2 separate regions of the Homo sapiens genome follow, and region 2 is linked to region 1. The links are contacts of gene promoters, found by promoter capture Hi-C in blood cells and fetal thymus (Javierre and others, 2016). All regions are on one chromosome and are shown on one strand. The core of a region is centred on a gene start or on the middle of the fragment in contact, and the rest is flanking DNA. Distances in the headings are between cores, read along the strand shown.

Region 1 (4,709 bases), core at 651-3,150:
AGGGCCCTGAAAAAATTATCTTATAACTCTCACTCTTTAGCAGCTTAACAACGCTTTAAAATATAAATTAGGACTCTTTCCTGAGTGGTAATCAGTCCTATTAACCTACCTACCCAAAGCCTTCTGATATATCACCAATACTTCACCATTTCTAATTAAGGCTACTAATATATGCAGACCTACTACAAACTATCAGAAGCCAGTCAGTAAAGGCCGGACGTGGCTGCTCACACCTGTGATCCCAGCACTTTGGGAGGCCGAGGCAGGAGAATCCCTTGAGCCTGGGAGGCGGAGACTGCAGTAAGCCGAGATCACACCACTTCACTCCAGCCTGGGCGAGGGAGGGAGACCCCCGCCCGGTGGCTCACGCCTGTAATCCCAGCACCTTGGGAGGCCGAGGCGGGTGAATCGCCTGAGGTCAGGAATTCAAAACCAGCTTCGCTAACATGGTGAAACCCCGTCTCCCCTAAAAATACAAAAATTAGCCGAGTGTGGTGTCGCGCGCCTGCAATCTAGCTACTCAGGAGGCTGAGGCAGGAGAATCGCCTGAACCCTGGGAGGCGGAGGTTGCAGTCGGAGGAGATCGCGCCACTGCACTCCAACCTGGGGGACAGAGCGAGACTCTGTCTCTCAAAAAAAAAAAAAAAAAAAACTGGCAATGTAATAATTTAGGAAAGCTGAATATTGGAAATGTTAGCTTCTATCAACAAAGATTTCTTGTTCAATTTTTGACCAACACGCTTAAAGGAAAACCAGAGCAGGATCCAGAAAGCAGAAAAAGGGAGAACACAGGAAATTAGCCTTGCTCCACAGAAGAGATTTAACCTACACAATCTTTGTCACAAACACAAAAGAAAGAACATTTTTTGTAAGAAAACTGACAGAGTGGGAGTTTTGGAGTGCCAAAAAAGGGGCTCAAATAAATCAGAAATAAGTACATTATACCAAGCGACTACCTCTATTGTCAACACTGGACATATTTTACAACACAGGATGCACTGCGTCAATAGTAGATAATGAATCATGTATACACATCAGATACACACGAATAACTTGCTTTATACAGAATTCTAGCACTTCTTATATTTCTTGACTGTCTTAGGAATAACCTCTGATTGGGCAGAAAACCCCTAAGTCCTAAAAGTTTCCAACACATTCCATTCTCATCCTTTTGTTGGGAACATTCTAAGCAAAGGGTAAACACTAATTGGGAAATAATGCTCCTCCTCAAGAAACTCCAAAACCTAAGTTGAAATGGAATCGTCTCAAATAGCAGAGGCAAGCATTTAAAAAGACAAACACTTATTTGAACCCCCACGGTTGGTATCGTTTCTGCAGCTCATGAACTTTCTTTTCCAGCCTACGGATGCGCCTCTGACAAACTCAGAACTCATGCACTCAGAGGGAAAAGTAACTGTACTCTTCCCCTCCTAATTAAGTTCAGGCGTAAGGGTCGAGAGAGAGGCAAAGGAACTTCAAATGTTTCCAAGGAAATCTCAAGGGCCCCACCCGGCTTCCGTCCCCACTCGCCAGACAAGGCAGCCGGGGAATAGGGAGGACAAGCTAATTCTAAAGCCAGATTCTCTGCCCTTCCTTGCTCAGCCGGCAGCCAGGCCCTAGCCCCCGACTGCGGAGCCCTGGTTCTCACTTTCACCTCAGCTCTGGCCCTGGAGCTCCCCATACCGGCCTCCTTCCCATGCTGAGCCCCAGCCGGCCAAGCTCCAGGCCCCCTCCCTTACCTGCGCCTCCTGCCCCGGCCGCGCCGGCTGCCCCCCGCCCCAGCCTCCGCTTCAACGGCTCAGCCCCCGGAAGTCGGCCCCCGAGAGCGGCGGTGGGCTCCTCAGGCCGCGGACGGTTGCGGCAGGAAGCGAAGCTGCTTACATGGTTGATGCGGCTTCTCGCTTCCCCCCCCCAAGACTCCGCCCTCTGTTTTCCTGTCCCCCAGTCCGAAATCTTTCCCGGGGGCCGGCTCCTCCCAGCCCGGCCGACGCTCGGATCAGATGCTCAGGCAGAAGGAGTCCAGCCCAGATCGAGTCGTCCTGATCTTTTGGCCGAGATTAGGCCGCTTCAGCCTTCCTGGAAGAAGCCAGGGGGACTGCGCGCGTGAGCGTCACGCATGCGGGGTCAACGGATGGGTGCTTGGTGCTCTGGGCACTGCAGGGGTGCTGGCTGGACTGCGGTTACCGTATGTGTTCGATACTGTGGGCACTCATAATATGTTATTGCTTTGTTGTAGACAGTTCACTCGTGTAGCACTGAACCGGAGTTAGCGATGACTCTGTTTCCAGACTTGCATGACTCCACCAATAACCAGCCATATGATCTTAAGCAAATTGCTCATTTATTTAGGCCTTAGACCTCTGGTGTGTAAAGTCGGATTAATAAAAGGACTCACTTCTTAATACTTTTTTGAGATTAAGTAAATGCACTTAAAGCGAATGGCACAGTTCCCTGACCCAGAGTAAGTGATGTCGGCTTTATAGTTAATTTTTTCATTTAGGTGTTGTGTTGCAAATGCTGATGCAAATAAAGTTACCAAGCCCAAGCCCTATCTTGTTCAGCTTGGCTAGAGTTATTCGTCATTTCTGTCCTGCTGAGAGCGCAGTGCAGTTAACTGCAGAAAACATGCTCGCCGCAGTTGTGGGGCTTGGTAGGGGAGGATGGAAAGCAGACGAAACCTAAAGGGAAATGCAGTTTTAAATTCTGTGAGTCCTTTTCCTCAAGAGTTTTGTCAAATCCCAGCCCAGTTTTCCTGGAGTTGGAAAGCACCATCGAAACCTGCAGGTTGAGTCCAGTGCAAATCCCAGTCACCATCCTCAGCTGGGCCCTTCAGCAATCTTTCTGGGAGTCTGTAGTCAGCTTCTCCCATTCCTTATTACTGCTGCGTCAGACCACCACCACGACCCCCACATTACCTTGACCATCATTCTCATCAGAGAATCATATTTTATACCCACGTGAAAAATCCCAAGGTATCTGGGCGTGACCCTTAACAAGCTAATTCCCCACACACCACAACATTTACCTACATCCACATCTGCCCTGGTCTGCCTTTCTCCCTCATCTCTCTGAGGAAGGGGCCTCTTCTTCCCCAGCTCAATCCTTTTGGCCCCCAATTCACCCTCTCCTGTCTGGGAGCTTGCACCGTATCTGCAACCTCCCCTTTTCCAATGACTCTGCCTCCTCAGCCCATAAAGATGCTCAAGTCTCTGCCTTCCTTTAAAAAAATTTTTTTTAAAAATTTAAGATAAGCAAAAAAGGCCCTCGTAATTATCACCCTATGTTAATATTTCATAAACCTACAATAAAGTATGAAATAGGTACAGAGATCATATGAAAAGAATAAATTGCCCAGCCACGACGACTGCAGTGTATGTAGAAACTCCATCTATGGTTTAAAAAAAAAAAAAAAAAGTGCACTCCGCAAATATTTTTGAGTCCCTAATTTAACCTGCAGTGTGTTAGTTATAGAAGCACTACACTAAGGATAGAATTATGAACGTATCCCACTGCTTCACTTGACTAGCCTAAAAAATAAAAATATATGTGAACATTACACAGTCCATGTCCTCAAGAAGCTTACCGTCTAATATCTATATTAGCTTACAGTTTAATTTCTGTGGAAAAGAGATTGAAAACTGGGCTACTGTTTTTGCAAAAGAAATCATTTTAGATTCTCACTTCACACTAGACATCCAAAATTAATTCCAGATGAATTTTATCTGTAGAGAGATTATTTGTCTGTGTATATATCCTCCTCAAAAACTTTCATTCAAGCACAGATTTAGGATTCTTGCTGAATCAATTATTGTTCGATGATATTATACTTCTATTCCTCTGTATGTATTAGTTGAATTTTACTGCAACTAATAGCGTTCCATCTTTTTCTTTCTTTCTTTATATTGGTTAGTATGACTTTGGACTCATTTTTTTCCAACATGTTATAGTTCATTACTGCCACTATTCATTTCTGTGCTCCAGGTGTCCCCGCCTTGGCTGGTGTGAGCCCCTTCCAGCAGACTCCTGAGTCCATTTGACATGCCTCCATTACCTTTTGAGCACATCTTACTTTTTGTTCTTTTTCTCTCTCCGCCACCCCTTACCCCTGGCAACCACCATTCTACCCACTACTTCTATGAGTTCAACATTTTTAAATTCCATATATATGAGATCTTGTGGTATATTTCTGTGTCTGGTTTATTTCACTTAACATAATGTCCCCAGGTTCATCCATGTTGTCACAAAAGACAGAATTTCCTTATTTTTTAAGGCTGAATAATGTTCCACCGTATATATATACCACATTTTATTTTATTTTTTTGACATGGAGTCTGTCACCAAGGCTGGAGTACAGTGGTGCAATCTGGGCTTACTGCAATCTCCACCCTCTGCCCCAACCCCCCCGACCTCCACCCCACCCCTATTCTCCTGCCTCAGCCTCCCGAGTAGCTGGGATTACAGGCGCCTGTCACTGCACCTGGCTAATTTTTGTATTTTTAGTAGAGACGGGGTTTCACTGTCTTGGCCAGGCTGGTCTTGAACCCCTGACCTCGTGATCCACCTGCCTCAGCCTCCCAAAGTGCTGGGATTACCGGCGTGAGCCACAGTGCCCAGCCCCACATTTTCTTTATTCAGTTGTTCATTGATGGACACTTAGGTTGATTTCATATCTTGGCTATTGTGAATAATGCTGCAATAAAGATGGGAGT
Region 2 (4,709 bases), core at 1,075-3,574, 120 kb after region 1:
TCATTCAGTTTCTCTTCACAAAAAAAATATATATATATGTATTAAAAGGCTAAATGTGATCACCTTAATCAGTATTACTAATCACTTTATTTGAAAGGTGACTTAGAAGAAAACAAGAGAATGCTACACAGTATAAATAACACTGTACAACCACACATGGGTTTGACATATAAAAAAGCTGGGATGATGAAACACCAAAATGTTAACTGCAGTTATCTCAGCTTTATTTTCTTCTTGTAGTGGACGCTCTGGTGCTGCCTGGACTTCCACTGTGGACTGAAGCACTCCTTCTCCCAGATGCTGACAGCTTAAAGCTGAGTTTGTCTCCAAGAATTTTCTTCTGCTGGAGGAAGCTGCCTTGCCCAAAGTTACACTTCTCCATGGCAGCAGCCCACATCAAATTACGGGGCAATGCAGAGGCACAGATTCCCGGTCCACTTGCCTAAGTTCCTGACAACTCTAGCCCTAGCCTTCCCTGCGGGATGGGATGAAGTCACCATTATTGCAATAGCTCTCTCTCAGCTCACACTTACAACTGCCTGCAGGGGTCCCTTCTGACCAGCTGATAGAGTGGGGGAAGGCTGAGCTTGATACACTAATAAATTGGCATGGCATTTGGGTACAAGCCCAAAATAGAATGCTGCTGCAGAATAGCTCACTCAGGAGTCACCCTAAAGACAGCAGTGAGGGAAATCCTCCCAAAAGGCAACCTTGAGGTAGTGCACCTGGCTGCTCACTCGGTGCAGAAAGAAAAGTAGCCCAAGGTCAAGCATATATGGAATTATTGAGCAGTAATGTGTGGCTTGGCTGGCTGGTCCAGGGCCTGGAAGGAGAAAGATTGGAAGATTAGGGACAAGAAGGTCTGGGGTAGAGGAATGTGCAGGGAGATATGGGATTGGGCACAAAGGGCGAAGATAGTTGTATCCCATGTGAAGGCCCAGTGTAGGGCATCCACCATTGAAGAGGCACTAAACAACCAAGTAGAAAAAATGATTTGGTCATTTGATTCCAGTCAGCGTCTGCCATCAGCCACCCTACTGCTGGCAGTGAGCTCACTAAGAGAGCGTTCATAGTGGTATGGATGAAGGCTATGCATTAACTTCTACTTATTAAGGCTAATCCAGCTATTTCCACTGTAGAATGTCCAATCTGCCAGCAATAGGGACCAACTCTGAGCCCTTTTGGTCCCATGCCTTGAGAAGACCAATCAGCCACTTAGTGGTAACATTTGAGGCAGAGCAGGAACACCAAACAGCAGGCAGGACTCTGGACAGCCACCAGCAGAAGGAGGGATTTAGGCCCTTAGGAAGATCTGAAAGGGGGAAGAAAGCCACAACTATCTGTTTTTGCTCAGGTCAGAGCCAATTATTGAGGACCTGCAATGTGCCAACCCTCTGCTCTAGGGCTCAGGGATAGACATGAACAAGAAATAATACCCAGCCCCCAGAAGCCTACAAAATTCCAGGCAAGTATCAGTTTTATTCAAGACAAGCCCCCAAACACCAACAATGATGATCACAGAATTTTTTTTTTTTTTTTTTTGCGACAGGGTCTTGCTCTGTTGCCCAGGCTGGAGTGCAGTGGTGCAATCATGGCTCACTGCAACCTCGACCTCCTGAGCTTAAGCAATCCTCTCACCTCAGCCTCCCAAATAGCTGGGACTACAGGTATGCGCCACCATGCAGGGCTAATTTTTGTATTTGTTGTAGAGATGGGGTCTCACCATGTTACCTAGGCTGGTCTCTAACTCCTGAGCTCAAGCAATCCACCTGCCTCAGCCTCCCAAAGTCCTGGGATTATAGGTGTGCACCACCTCGCCTGGCTGATCACAGAATTTTGAATTTGAACTAAGCTTTATGGGTTTTAACACACTTTCACAGATTACTTCACTTGATTCCCTCTTCTTTAAGATTCCTTACTATTTAAATTCTGGCTTTTAGAACTAAAACACACACACACACACACACAAAAACACCACCAGTCCCTGAGCAGAATTCATTACTTAGTTTAATGACTTTTGAGAAGTCAATTAAGCAGAGTAAACTATAAAATAAAAGCACAGAGACAGAATTTCGCCCATCCTTTTGCTCAACTAAAAGTGTACTCTATTCATTTTGATGGCAACAACAGCTTTAGTGAATTAGAACAACCCGAACCTACCAGAAAGAATGAGAGTAAACCATTCAGCCAACCCCAGTGACCTGGGCACGGAGAGCAGCGAGCTTGCAAATCCCCTTACTCACCAAAATGGGCCCTTTTGTGTGATTTCCTGTGGAGGCAGCAGTCAGGGCTGCTATACATACAGTGACGTTCCCGCAGTCCCACACAGCAACCAGAAAACATCTGCTCACTTCCTTCAAAATGGGAAAGGTAAGTCCTGGGTACCGGATGCTCAGCCTTGGCCCTAATGCAGTGGCCTCAGTGGGGGCCAATCACTCCATGCTCCCACATCTTCCATTTTTCAGATCACCTTCTACGAGGACAGGGCCTTCCAGGGCCGCAGCTACGAATGCACCACTGACTGCCCCAACCTACAACCCTATTTCAGCCGCTGCAACTCCATCAGGGTGGAGAGCGGCTGCTGGATGATCTATGAGCGCCCCAACTACCAGGGCCACCAGTACTTCCTGCGGCGTGGGGAGTACCCTGACTACCAGCAATGGATGGGCCTCAGCGACTCCATCCGCTCCTGCTGCCTCATCCCCCCGGTGAGTGTGGCTCTGTCTTTGCCTTCCATCTTTTTGGAAATAAAAGCTATTTCATGATATTCTTTTTTTTTTTTTTTTTTTTTTTGAGGCGGAGTCTCGCTCTGTCCCCCAGGGTGGAGTGCAGTGGCATGATCTCGGCTCACTGCAACTTCCGCCTCCCGGGTTCAAGCAATTCCCCTGCCTCAGCCTCCTGAGTAGTTGGGATTACAGGCATGCACCACCATGCCCAGCCAATTTTTGTATTCATAGTAGAGACGAGGTTGCACCATGTTGCCCAGGCTGATCTCGAACTCCTGGCCTCAAGTGATCCGCCCGCCTCGGCCTCCCAAAGTGCTGGGATTACAGGTGTGAACCACGGCATCCGGCCTATTTAATCACATTATTCTTAAATCCCAGCTACTCGGGCGGCTGGGGCAGGAGAATTGCTTGCTTGAAGCCGGGAGATGGAGGTTGCAGTGAGCCGAGATCGTGCCACTGCACTCCAGCCTGGTGACAGAGTGAGACTCCATCTCAAAACGACAATAACAACAACAACAACAACAACAACAAACTTTTGCTTGCTTTGTCTTACTTTTCTATTTGATTATTCCTCCTGAGAAGATAGGATCCTGTCTTCTGATTTCTATTCTAATTTAATGGTCAGTACCTATTAGCTCACTTAGAGGTATAAATTAGAGAAAAGGCCAAATCTGAAACTAAAGTTTGAGATTCCATATTTTCTGGGCAGTGACTGCAGAATTCTTAGAATTGTGGTGTGTGGGAGGCATGGGATACAGTGTCATAAAAACAGAAGTTAATGAAGGTGATACTTGCTGCTGAGGGAAATAAATAAGTTGAGAGCAGGAGGCTAGAAAGGAAGCTTAAAAGTCAGATAGGTTGAAATTTGAACTGAAGGCTGGGTGCGGTGGCTCACGCCTGTAATCCCAGCACTTTGGGAGGCCGAGGTCAGGAGGTCAGGAGTTCAAGACCACCCTGGCCAATATGGTGAAACCCCCTCTCTACTAAAAATACAAAAATTAGCTGGGCTTGGTGGCACGCGCCTGTAGTCTCAGCTACTTGGGAGGCTGAGGCAGGAGAATCGCTTGAACCCGGGAAGGGTAGGTTGCAATGAGCTGAGATCATGCCACTGCACTCCAGTCTGGGTGACAGAGCAAGATTCCGTCTCAAAAAAAAAAAAAAAAGAAAAGAAATTTGAACTGAAAATTAGCCAGATGTGGTGGTGCATGCCTGTAGTTCCAGCTACTCAGGAGGCTGAGGTGGGAGGGTCACTTGAGCCCAGAAGGTTGAGGGGGCTGTGACCCATGATCATGCCATTGCACTCCAGCCTAGGTGACAGAGGGAGACCCTGTCTCAAGAAACAAATACATATATGTGTGTGTGTGTGTGCGTGCGCATATAATAGTGAACCCCAAATATCTGAGACAGGTCTCAGTCAATTTAGAAAGTTTATTTTGCCAAGGCTGGGCACAGTGGCTCATGCCTGTAATCCCAGCACTTTTGGGAGGCCAAAGCAGGCAGATCACCTGAGGTCCGGAGTTTGAGACCAGCCTGACCAACATGGAGAAACCTCTACTAAAAATACAAAATTAGCTGGGCGTGGTGGCGCGTGCCTGTAATCCCAGCTACTTGGGAGGCTGAGGCAGGAGAATTGCTTGAACTTGGGTGGCAGAGGTTGTGGTGAGCCGAGATCACGCCATTGCACTCCAGCCTGGGCAACAAGAGTGAAACTCCATCTCAAAAAAAAAAAAAAACCCAGAAAGAAGGTTTATTTTGCCAAGGTTGAGGATGCACCCATGACACAGCCTCAGAAAGTCCTGAGACATGTGCCCAAAGTGGTCAGGGGTACAGTTTGCTTTTATACATTTTAGGGAGACATGAGACATCAATCAATATGTATAAGTTGTAAATTGGTTCAGTCTGGTAAGACAGGAAGTAGGGGCTTCCTGGTTAGACATGGATAAGAAACAGAGCTGGGCGCGTGGCTCACCCCTGTGATCCCAG

What was found. The method cuts DNA at HindIII sites, captures the fragments that hold promoters and counts their contacts. A CHiCAGO score of 5 or more calls a contact.
Region 2: the fragment with the promoter of CRYGB here is called in contact with the fragment with the promoter of PIKFYVE in region 1 in 15 of 17 cell types (neutrophils, M1 macrophages, naive CD8 T cells and 12 more); the score reaches 13.5 in neutrophils.

Annotation. Positions count from the first base shown.
Region 1 is chr2:208,263,446-208,268,154 of GRCh38, reverse strand. PIKFYVE (phosphoinositide kinase, FYVE-type zinc finger containing) reads right to left here and starts at 1,900. Exons shown (of 42, transcript NM_015040.4): 1 at 1,740-1,900. RefSeq lists a silencer at 1,614-1,883 and an enhancer at 2,014-2,063. The HindIII fragment of the contact is 8,601 bases long and covers 1-3,580 here.
Region 2 is chr2:208,143,773-208,148,481 of GRCh38, reverse strand. It overlaps CRYGB (crystallin gamma B), which reads left to right and starts at 2,324. Exons shown (of 3, transcript NM_005210.4): 1 at 2,324-2,370; 2 at 2,466-2,708. The coding sequence starts at 2,362. The region is part of intron 2 of LOC100507443 (a long non-coding RNA gene); the gene reads right to left. RefSeq lists an enhancer at 2,509-3,132. The HindIII fragment of the contact is 1,715 bases long and covers 1,855-3,569 here.